Regions from separate parts of the Homo sapiens genome. Here all the other regions are linked to region 3. Evidence: promoter capture Hi-C in 16 types of primary human blood cells and fetal thymus (Javierre and others, 2016). All regions are on one chromosome and are shown on one strand. Each heading gives the region's core, a stretch centred on a gene start or on the middle of the fragment in contact. The rest is flanking DNA. Distances are from core to core; before and after follow the strand shown. Region 1 has its middle 53 kb from the start of ARRDC3. Region 2 has its middle 33 kb from the start of LUCAT1. Region 3 holds the start of ARB2A (ARB2 cotranscriptional regulator A). Region 4 has its middle 110 kb from the start of ARRDC3.

Region 1 (2,700 bases), core at 189-2,688, 2.7 Mb before region 3:
ATCAACATTCACTTTTATCCCCAATTTTTTTTATTTATAACTTTACATTCCACACAAATGTGGACCTTCCCCTGCCATTCTCATGGAAGCAGTTCACCTTACTGCACCGACTTTTAAAAATCTCCTCCCAGATTATAACTTCTTATGCCATCTAGTTTCTTCATTTCTGTCTTTAAATCTGTGATTCTGCTGATAACTGATCATATCACAGCTAAATGTCTAGGTCTATGCTATTTGCTGCTGAGTTTTTCATTCCTAGCATATGAGTCCCTAACATGTGAATGGCTATTTATGTTCTAATTTTCTAGAGCTGCCGTATTTTAAGAGTTGTTGTAGAGAGACTAGCCCTTAACCTTCTCTTATGGTTATTAGTGATGGGAATTTGGGGGGCAGTGTTAACTGTTACATAAATGAAAAAAGCACCATAGAGGTTTTTAGCATCTCCTGAGTTACAGCTATTTTATTTTCCTGTACCTTTCTATTTGGGAACTAATTTGTTGAACCAAAATTGATTGATCCAGAACACTGAAGTGGAGATATTCATAAATAGAGATGAAGGAGGGGGAAAAGGGAATGAAAAAGGGAGATTTTGATTTGTAGATATGTAGTTGGGTGAAATAAGTATTAGTTCTGTAGCTGGTAGTGGGGATACCTGCACACTTCCTTAGGTATAGGACATTATAATAAGGCTTCCCTGCTGACCCCACTAGTTAACTTATTTTGGGAGGTGATTTACTTTATTGGAGTGTAAAAGGTCATTCCTACTACTTGCTAATTAAGGCAGCAACCTGGCAGCATGAATGATGCCAGTTTTATGAATGATCAAATCAGTTTGTATTGTGGCTGATAAAGCTTTGGAAAACTATTGTAGCAGTTCGTCAATGCGATAAAAAAAGCAGAAACCACAAGTAAAAATCTTCCAGATATTAGAGAAAAAAGTAATGAAATTTAATTGTTCAGATTGAAGGAGAATGGAAAAGTAAATGAAAACTGTATTGATGTTTTAAAATTTAAGTAGAAAAAGGGTTATGTTAACTCAGTGATTTAATTCTATTATCTGGCTCTAGATGATTTTTAAAATTGTGAATGATTGGTGAATGAGCGAATACATTTATTATAAACTTGATGCTAACAATGTGACAGTGGTATAAATAATAAATGCAGAATAAGATTTCCATAGTGGAAAATCACTGTTTTGGCACAGACAGAACTTCTTTCCATATTACTTGCCCAGGGTTAGAGAAACATTACTATTAAAAACGATTTTAAAATTCTTTTACCAAGTTATGATGTTAAGTCATATTGGTGATGAGGTAGCTTCTCTCTGTAGCAACCATCTGGTTTTGGGTTGTGATAGTTCAATAGGGTAAAGGTATCATTGCAAAACTCCTGTACTCAGTCACTCTCCACCTCCACGTTAGCTGTGTGCCATAGTGCATGCAGGTACAAACTCCGAACTGCATTTCAAATTTTCCATATCCTGTTTTCTCTTGCCCTTAATTTTCCTTGTAGGTTCTGGTGGATGTGTTGCCAAAGTTTGTTCATACATTAGCATCTGTTCTTTGACCTTCCTCATCTGTGAAATAGTGTTGTTACATACCTACATTGGATAGATGTAATGGAGAATTTTATTTTGCAAGGCATTTTCAAATATTTTTTTCTCATGGAGTCGAAAAGTAGAATATTAACTCATTTATTAGGAGACTATCATGGGAGAAATGTGGCTGTACAAAATAATATGTGTATTACTAAGGTGTTTTTGGCTGCAGAACTGACACTGTCTCTAGTGAGTTTAGGCCAAAAAAGGGAATGAATTAGAAGTATGCTCCACAGGTTTAAAAGCAGAGGGAGAGTTGAAAATTCAAGGCCTTGGGAAGGTCAACAAACAGGGTCCTAAGGGATCTGTACGGTGATCAGTCATGGAAAGTCTCTGTAGGGCACTAGCCTTCAAATGCCTCAGCTCAAGTTCCTTCTGTCCTATGTGACTCTACTCAGATTTCAGATTCTAAGACAGAGGCTGATTGCAAGCTTGGGCTGGGAGTCTTCTCCAGGGCCAATGTGCTCACCTTTTGTTTGGAAGACCCATCCTGACTTAAATAAAAGCTCATGGGAAGAGCAAGGTACTATTACCATAATACAGTGAAGAGGGTGTAGGGCCAAATAACAGATATCCATTACAAGTCCACTGGAGCACACTGCCAGTTCTTAAACCTCAAAAGAATCCGGAAGTAGGATAAAATAATTTATCTACTTTATGATGATAGTTTTCTAGTGTTGCCATTACAGGTACCACAGACTGGTGGCTTAAACAATTGAAATTTATTTTCTTTACAATTCTAGAGGCTAGAATTCCAAGATCAAGGTGTGAGTAGGGTTGGTTTCTTCTAAGGCCTCTCTCCTTACCTTGTAGATGGCCATGGTTCTCTGGTGTCTTCACATGTCTTTCCTCTATGTATCTGTGTCGTAATCTCTCCTTATAAGAACACCAGTCATACTGGATGAAGGCTCACCCATATGGCCTTATTTTACCTTAATTACCACTTTAAAGGCTCTATATCCAAATAGTCACATTCTGAGGTAGTGGGGGTTGGGATTTAAAAAAATAAATTTTGGGTGGGGATACAATTCAGGTCATAACAACTACCTAGTAAGTTGTTGTAGGTTCAGTTGGCTAGCCTAGTAAGTCTTTAGCCAACGACA
Region 2 (2,700 bases), core at 63-2,562, 2.8 Mb before region 3:
TGATGAAAGAATTTGATTAGTGGACTATTGCACTCTTAAAGGCAAAGAAAACAAAGCACGGCAGTGCCCCGCTCGGTCGGGATTCAAAAGCAGTGAAAGCTGCCTTGCTCTGTTTAAAGCGACAGGACTGCTCTGCTATTCAGGAAAGACTAAGGAGGCAGCGGTATCTGCGAAGTCCTGCGAGCTCCCGGCGACAGGAGTAGCGCGAGCAGCTGACGGGGGAAATCCACTGGCAGCGAGTCGGATGAGTCAGCGCTGAGTCACGCTCGGCGCTACGTGCCGGCCTGGGCGGCCGCAGCCCGGGGCCCGCAGCCGCGGAGTCAGCAGAGATCCGCCGCTTCCTGGAAGACCCTCCCTGCGCCTGAGGGAGGGGGCGGCGTCGCCTCCTCGCGCCGCCAAGGCCCCCTGCAGTCACACACTCGCCCGCACGCACGACCTCCTCGCTCCATCCTGGGGACATCCAGGATTCACCCCCGAGGGGAAGAGTCCCATGTGACAAATGGTTAGAGCTTGGGCGGATGCTTTCATCCCATGTGTTTCCTCAAAGCTGAGATTCCAGCGCTCTTGCTCTTTTCGTGTTGTTGTTAGGTTTTTAACTTTTTTTTCCCGTTTCCTGGCAGAGGATTAACACGCTGATCTTTTTATAGTTTCCAATATTTTAAATGAAGCACAAGAAGAATGGATTAATAAAACGTGTTGAAACTTAAGCATCAAATCGTCACACTGCTCTGGGTTCTAAAATGACTAGAAAGTGACTGCACTAGAAGCTTTGAATGTTGGGTAACTGGGAAGGATTAACTCGGTTCTGATGTGCCCTTTGTTAATGAAAATCAAATCTTTGCTATTTGTCCAACCACCCTTATAATAACTAAATTTGTCTAAAGACTGGAGACATGTGTGGTAATAATTAGATATGGAGTCACCAAAGAACAGGGTAGCCATGCCTTTGTGTTTTCTGTGCCTTAACTAACATTCTGTTGTCCTAATGTGCAAATGATACATTGTTGGTTTTAAAAAATATTATGGCAATGTTTATATCCATGCTGAGAGTTAATAGCAGGTATTGTGTCATGAAGTGCAGCTAGTCAGTGAGATAGTCCTGATACAGGTGGGGTAATTATTATTTAGGGACAATTTGCGGCTGTTTTTCAAGACAGACTGGGTCTTTAGAAGTTGTGCCAGCTGTTACCGGTGGTTCTGCTTCATTGGGAGAATTATTTCCCTCCTTATCCCTGTGTACGTGTGAAATGATGCAAAACAATAGAGTGTTCGTGTAGTTTGACTGCTTTTCTTGCAGGCAAGGAGACTGAAGTAATTAGAGGTTGAACTGACTCACCAAGGTTACTGGAGAAGCATGACTACCCAATTTTGTAAAGGAGAGAAAAGCCCCAAACAAATACAAATAGGAAACATGAAAATACGAGAGAGGATCAGAGCCCAAGAAAGCAAAATGAGTAATATGGACCAGAAATGGAATCTCATATACTTGAACTAGTTGTAATGGGAGGTATACTTAATGCGCTAGCCTTAAAAAAAAAGTCAAATTATTGCATAAAAATTTAAGATTTTAAGTAATTACATACATCATTTGATGTTTTAAAAACTGTGCCTGATTCTGATTCATTATTCTTAGCATATCCATATGGATATTGCCTTGGCATTTACCAAGTCAGACTTCAGTTCAAAAACCCAAATTCATCTTATGACGGTGTGAACTTGGACTTGATACTTAGCTTCTCTAAGCCTATAATGGAGATTATAATCACCATTTCACCTGTTTGCAAAGCAGGCAGGATTAAATGAGATGATGCCTATAAAAGGTTTAGCACATTTCCATGCAAAAAATTTCTCAGTAAACGAAGCTTGTATTGTGTTATCAGTATTATTGAACTTGACTAAACTATTGATCAGATCACAAAGAGGTAGTACAGGTACTTTGTCCAGATCCTAGAACTAATAAAAGCTTTGGGAATGTACATCACAAACGTAGTGGTTCAGTGACTGATATGGTTTGGCTCTGTGTCCCCACCCAAATCTCATCTCGATTTGTAATCCCCACGTGTCAAGGGAGGGACCTGTAATCCCCATGTATCGAGGGAGGGAGGGGATTGGACCATGGAGTCAGTTTCCCCCATGCTGTTCTCGTGATAGTGAGTTCTCATGAGATCTGATGGTTTTATAAGTGTTTGGTAGCCCCTCCTTCATTCTTCTCTTTCGTTCCACTTTCTGAAAAAGGTCCTCGCTTCCCCTTCACTTTCTGCCATGATTGTAAGTTTCCTGAGGCCCCCCACCCAGCCATGTGAAACTGTGAGTCAATTAAACCTCTTTTTTTTCTTATAAATTACTCAGTCTCAAGTATTTCTTTATATATAGAGTGTGAAAACAGACTAATACAGTGACCTTGGGCAAGATCCTTAGACAAGAGTCTAAAACACCTGAGCAAGTACTTAATGTTCTTTGATTATGAGTGGAGAGATGAAAGAAATAAAGGAAATCTAAATAAAAGGAATGCCCTACAATCATCAGTTGGCCAGAAAAGTGGTAGGTGATGCAAAACAACCAGGCAAGAACGCTTTTCTCCCATCCTCGGAGAGAGCTCCTTGACAAAGTACCATAGCAGTCACTGGGCAGAGAGGATATACTATTGTACTATTGCCCCTTTGCCATACAGGAATGCATTATTTAGCTGAGACAGAAATT
Region 3 (2,741 bases), core at 85-2,584:
CACTGAAGGTTGCCAGTAAATACTTGCTAAATGGATAAACAAGTGGATGCTCATGGTTTCATAGATAATATTTCCCTCTTGGCCTTGGTACTATTTATTCTACCATATGGAGCAGCCATAGCCTGAAAGCATCCAGAGCATCCTTAACTTTTCAGCGTAGGATTCACTGGTTAAGTGGAAGTAAGGCCTAGTTGAAAATTCTGAAAGAAGCCTGGTACCAGCACTGTCACTGAGGCCTTAACGAAGCAGATCCAAAAATACTCTCTTACTCAGTTTCTACATTCGCTAAATGTATACAGTGTAACCGTCCCTCGCATTGTAGGATAAAGAATACACCTTATCAATGAGATATTTGTTATGCAGTATATGGCATGCGTTAATGCAAACGATGTCATGTACTACATTAAAAAATCGCACTGATATTTTGATAAATATACAATGCACTTGTAGATAAAAACCAGAGAATTTTTCCCTCTACAGCTTTTTTGAGGATTTGGGAGAAATGGACAAATGCAACAACATTGCATGTCATTAAATACAGTATATCCAAACACAACGAGTTTCTTGGCCCAACAGATATAGACCCTGGAGCACTATAAGAATATGTTAAACACCTGGATGAGGGAAAGAGAAGACTGCTTCCAAAACATACTTACTTTATTTCAAAGTCAAAAGTATTCAACACTTAATTCATACTGCATCCCAGAGAAACGTCCCACCCGCGCCCATGCATGTTACAAGTTTTGAGAGCATTTTATAACTGCACTTTAATCCCTCTGCAGTGAATGACTTCTGGTAAAGCGCTGGCAGTTAATAATACTTTTTGTAGAAAAAAAAATTAATACAACAACCACAATACCTCCACTCGCAAGAAAGCGGAGGAGGGCCCATTACTCTGTCTCCAGGGACTCCCAGAATCCCGTACGCCCCGACATAAGGAAAGTCATCCAGGGAACACACACGTCGCTCCCGCCTAGAGAGTGGAAATGGAACATGGGACCTGCCCATCAGCGGAGGCCCAGACACAAGTCAGAGGTGTCCGCAGGGAATGCAGCGTGGTTCCAGACAGCCTCGGTCCCCAGGGCCAGCGACCACCGCCTGAGACCGACCCAGGCCAGCCCCCTCCTGATTTCGACCCGGGCCTGCCCCCGGAGCTCACATCCCCGCAAACGGCAGTCCTACCTGAGCTCTGCCCCCAGCCACAGGGCTGAGGGGGCAGGCGGGAGGAGGCGTGGCCTTCCAGTTCGCCAGTCGAACTCCCTCGTGCGGTTGTTATGACTTTCCCTCTCGGGATCCGCGCCCCGACCAAGTTCGAGTTGCACTTCCGGGGTCTTCAGGAGATTGATACGTCATTACGCACTTGACGGCAGCGGCGGCGACAACCCGGAAACGGGCGGGGCGCGGGCCCTGGGTAGGTTCCTGTGGTATTAGGTGGACTGGAGAAAGAGGCCCGCGTGAATTAAGTGTAGTTCTCTTATGCACTGGCGGACTCTGGTCGCCCTTCCTTGTGAAGGCTGCCTGGGTAGCCGTAGAGGACGAGGCCACTCTAAAGCCTCGTTTTCCCAGCGGAATTTTAACTATTCTAAGGATGTCCTTACAGCCAGTTCCCCACTCCGCTACTCAGAGTGTGTCAGACTTTACCCTGTCCATTCAACTCCAGAAAAACCGGGAGGTCTAGATTCGGAAGATTAAATTTACCTTTGAATTAGGACATGTAAAATAGGAAGTTAATATTAGCATCCTAATGACAAAAGTTTTCTCGTTATCATACTTGACTCAAATGGGAATCTTACGGATATTAATGTTTTTTCCAGAAACAGGTTTGAAAGGTATTTCAAGGATAAATCTGGGGAAAGGGATGGAAGCAACTGATTTTTAATTTTTAGATAGTACTCTCAGAGCATTTATTTAGTCCAAAACTGTTAATTTAATGAATTAGGCTAAACTAGACGCTGGGGTAACAAAGCTGAGTTAGATACCCTCTCCTCTGAGGCAGCTAAAGAGAAGGAAAGTCTGGTGGCTGACAAGTAAACCAACAGTTATGTTCTTCAGAGAGGAGATCTCAGACTCTCTAAGGTATACTTCACTTCCACACTGTTTGTACTTTGCAAATGTACCCTGCCCCCTAAAATGTAAACTCACTGATGGTAGTGACATAATCTTGTCTTTTTAATGTATCCTCAACCATACAACAGTGCCTGTCCACAAAGTAGACAATAAATACTTATTGAATGACTGAATGATCACAGTGGTAAATAATAGATTGGGGAAATCTAGAAAAGTGTATAGGACAAGAAGAAAGTGGTGTAAGTAAGTGGCGGGAGATAAGGAGCAGTAAAAGGTGAGAGAATCCACTGGAGTTAGCCAGAACTGAGTACCTGAATGAATCTCGGGCATTGCAAGACTGTTAGGGCTTCATTTCCGGAAAGAACTCAAATGGTTTGTAGAGTGACACTTTATACTGAAGAGGAAGGCAACAGCCAGATTCTGAAAAGCTTTCTATGTCATGCTGAGTAATTTGATTTTCTGCTGCAGACAATTGGGGAAGCTGAAGGATTGTTGAACAGAGGAGGGAAACATTTTTATTTTGGTGGACTTTTGCAACAGTGACAGATTATATTAAAAAGATAAGGCTCCCAAAAATGTATAATCCCAGTTTAACCATGAGAAAAACATCAGACAAAATACCTGACCAGTACTACTCCAAACAGTTAAAGTCATGAAAAACAAGGAAAGTCTGA
Region 4 (2,700 bases), core at 19-2,518, 2.6 Mb before region 3:
AAACTTTTTGCTATGTAATTTAACATAGGTTCTAGGAATTAGGATGTGGTGGAAAGGTATTTTTGCACCAGTCGCAAATGACTTAGTTATCAGTTTCATTTTATTATCAGAAATCAACTCATTTTGTTATCAAAGTTATTTGCTATTCTTTGCTACTTCATTCAAAACTGGAATCCTGAGTAGTGCTCATTTGGACATAAAGCCCCATGGTTCTACCCACTTGCTTTGGTTGTACTATTGAGAGCAGAAACTTCAAATCCAGGATCTGTTGTCCTCTAGGGAGTCCTGTAATTCATTCTGCTTCTTCCTGGAGGAGTTGCAAAAGGGAGCCCCCACTGGGTGGAGCAATTAGAAAGTGGTTCCAGGACTCATGGTTTGGTGAGAAGATAAAGGATAGATTTCAGCACCACCCCAGCAGGGTACAACCTACACACAGCAGCCCTCCCACCTCACTTAGAGTTTCTATAGACTATGCCCCATGTTTTCAGCCTCTGCCTTAAACATTTATTTGCTCTAAGCTTCTAAAGGGTAACCTGTGTCTTATAAAGTCCCTTTACGGCTTATCTTAGTGCTGAGGACGGGGTAAACCCTCTGGACCCTGTCTTGCTGTGATCTACAAGTGACAATACAAAACCACACCCTCTTTTTAGACAAAATTTAGGCATTTAAAAATAATAGTTTATAGATTTCTAGCTATGTAAGATGATTTATTGAGTGATTAAAAGCAATCTTATTTATGATAAGTTAAAAAAATCAGGATTCATCTTCTATACATTTCTGCTCACAGTTAGAATCTGAATGTCCTGTCATCTGTGTAGGCTCAAGGAATTAGCTACTCAGAGAACCCAGAAATGGCCAGGAGCCCTTGGAAGAACAGTCTCTCTGTGACCCCATTAGCTTCGAGTCCCAGTTTCCCTGGAAAAAGTAGGGTGAGGTGTCTGACATTTTATTGAGATAAATTTTCTGGAATAGGGTTCACTCCAAGTAGAACTTCCCTGCTCTTAGGTTTATTAAGTTTCCTAGATATTTGGGGAAGGAATTCTAGATGTCTTGCGGTCATTTTCTCATTCTGCAAGTTCTGCTGAAATCCAGCATATCAAGGAACAGTTGGAAGCACAGTATGTCTAAGAGGGAGTTTTGAAAATACATAGAGGAATTTAGAAAGAAGTTTTAGGACACGAATTACAAACTTCAACTAGTTCCTAACTTTTTTGGGGCTGTTTTTGAATGAAAAGTTGTGATGGATTTCTAGTACAGTCATGCACTGCTTAGTGATGGGAATATATTTTGAGAAATGTGTCATTAGATGATTTCATCACACGCACTTTATACAATGTACTTACACAAACCTAGATGGTATAGCCTACTACACACCTAGGCTATGTGGGATAGCCTATTGCTCCTAGGCTACAAACCTGTACAGCATGTTATTGTACTGAATGCTGTAGGCAATTGTAATACAATGGTAAATATTTGTGGATCTAAACATAGAAAAGGTACAGTAAAAATACAGTATTATAATCTTTTGAGACCACTGTCATATCTTGTCTGTCATTGACTGAAGTGTCGTTGTGCAGCGCATGGCTCTAATTCCACAGGCATCTCAGGTCATACGAAATGTGTCATGTTATTAAACATTTCTCCATTTGTCATGGGACAATACTTAGCTCTCCGTGTAGGAATATTTACCATCCTGAAGGTTAAGGTCTTCAGGTTAGACCAGCCAACAGAATTCAGGAAAAAGTTTTTTTTTTTTGGGTGATAATAATAGACATCAAAGAACTTTTAGAGATGGGATCCTGAAATTGATCAACACTCTTTTGGAAACATGTGACAGAAACCTAATTCAAATTACCTTGAGCAGAAAGGAAACATGGTGGCTCTTGCAGCTCCACTAGTTCACATGCCTGAAGGAATTGTTGGGGAAACTAGGATGCTGAAAGGGTCTCAGTACCTCTGGACTCTCTCTTTCTATCTAGCTTTTATCATGCTGGTCTCTGATTGGCTTTGTTCTGCACACAAGCTTTTTTCAAATGATGCAGAAGATGCCTGCTGGTAGCACCAGAGACCTAGCTCCAGACTCAGCAGTCCCTGAGGAGTGGGAACTCCTTTCTACCAGTCCTGTTCTAAGGAAGAACTCTGGCCTTCCTCGTACCCTATGCCCAAATGCTTGGAGAAAAAAATTTCTCTTGCCATGGGTGTACTATGAGTTAAAAGTGCTGGCTTCATTTTCCTCGAGCTTGTTACTTAACCTCTTGCTGGAAAGGTCCCTGAGAAGAAGGTTACAATTCAGAGGAGCTGGCACTAGGGGAGGAGAGTGAGGTGTTCAGATGCAAAATATAAGGAGACATTGAACAATTCAGAAATCAAGATAAATTTTAACACAATATTTTAAAAAGTCAGGTTGGTCTCCTATGCCTTATGGATTGACTGCCTGTTTTGGTAAATAGTTTTTAGTGAAATGAGAGCTGAGATGAGGCCGAGGTGAGTAAGTCAGGGTCATACAAGGTAGGGTCAGATCCTGTCTTTGTTTAAAATTTGATATTTGGTTCAAGAGTCTTTAGGCAAGCAGAAAGTATAAGATGGAAGAGTGGTGGTGCTGATGTGACTTGTCAGGGTTTAGAAAGGCTAACTGGATGCGCTTCTTCTGCCTGAGTTGAGAGATAGATGCAAGGGTTAGGCAGATAAAAACTTTTTTCG

What was found. Contacts are between HindIII fragments. The CHiCAGO score rates a contact against its expected background, and 5 or more counts as called.
Region 1: a contact is called between a fragment that was not itself captured here and the fragment with the promoter of ARB2A in region 3, in 1 of 17 cell types (total CD4 T cells). The highest score is 5.0, in total CD4 T cells.
Region 2: a contact is called between a fragment that was not itself captured here and the fragment with the promoter of ARB2A in region 3, in 1 of 17 cell types (non-activated CD4 T cells). The highest score is 5.4, in non-activated CD4 T cells.
Region 4: a contact is called between a fragment that was not itself captured here and the fragment with the promoter of ARB2A in region 3, in 1 of 17 cell types (naive CD8 T cells). The highest score is 5.7, in naive CD8 T cells.

The regions. Positions count from the first base shown.
Region 1 is chr5:91,435,012-91,437,711 of GRCh38, forward strand. No RefSeq gene overlaps it. Among named protein-coding and RNA genes, the nearest start is that of ARRDC3, 53 kb to the left of the region's middle. The HindIII fragment of the contact is 1,176 bases long and covers 851-2,026 here.
Region 2 is chr5:91,280,370-91,283,069 of GRCh38, forward strand. No RefSeq gene overlaps it. Among named protein-coding and RNA genes, the nearest start is that of LUCAT1, 33 kb to the right of the region's middle. RefSeq lists enhancers at 1-90, 89-348, 91-1,032. The HindIII fragment of the contact is 1,095 bases long and covers 766-1,860 here.
Region 3 is chr5:94,110,329-94,113,069 of GRCh38, forward strand. It overlaps ARB2A (ARB2 cotranscriptional regulator A), which reads right to left and starts at 1,335. Exons shown (of 11, transcript NM_032042.6): 1 at 1,183-1,335. LOC105379087 (a long non-coding RNA gene) reads left to right here and starts at 1,374. Exons shown (of 7, transcript XR_001742441.2): 1 at 1,374-1,411; 2 at 1,997-2,076. The HindIII fragment of the contact is 15,548 bases long and covers 1-2,493 here.
Region 4 is chr5:91,495,512-91,498,211 of GRCh38, forward strand. No RefSeq gene overlaps it. Among named protein-coding and RNA genes, the nearest start is that of ARRDC3, 110 kb to the left of the region's middle. The HindIII fragment of the contact is 1,505 bases long and covers 517-2,021 here.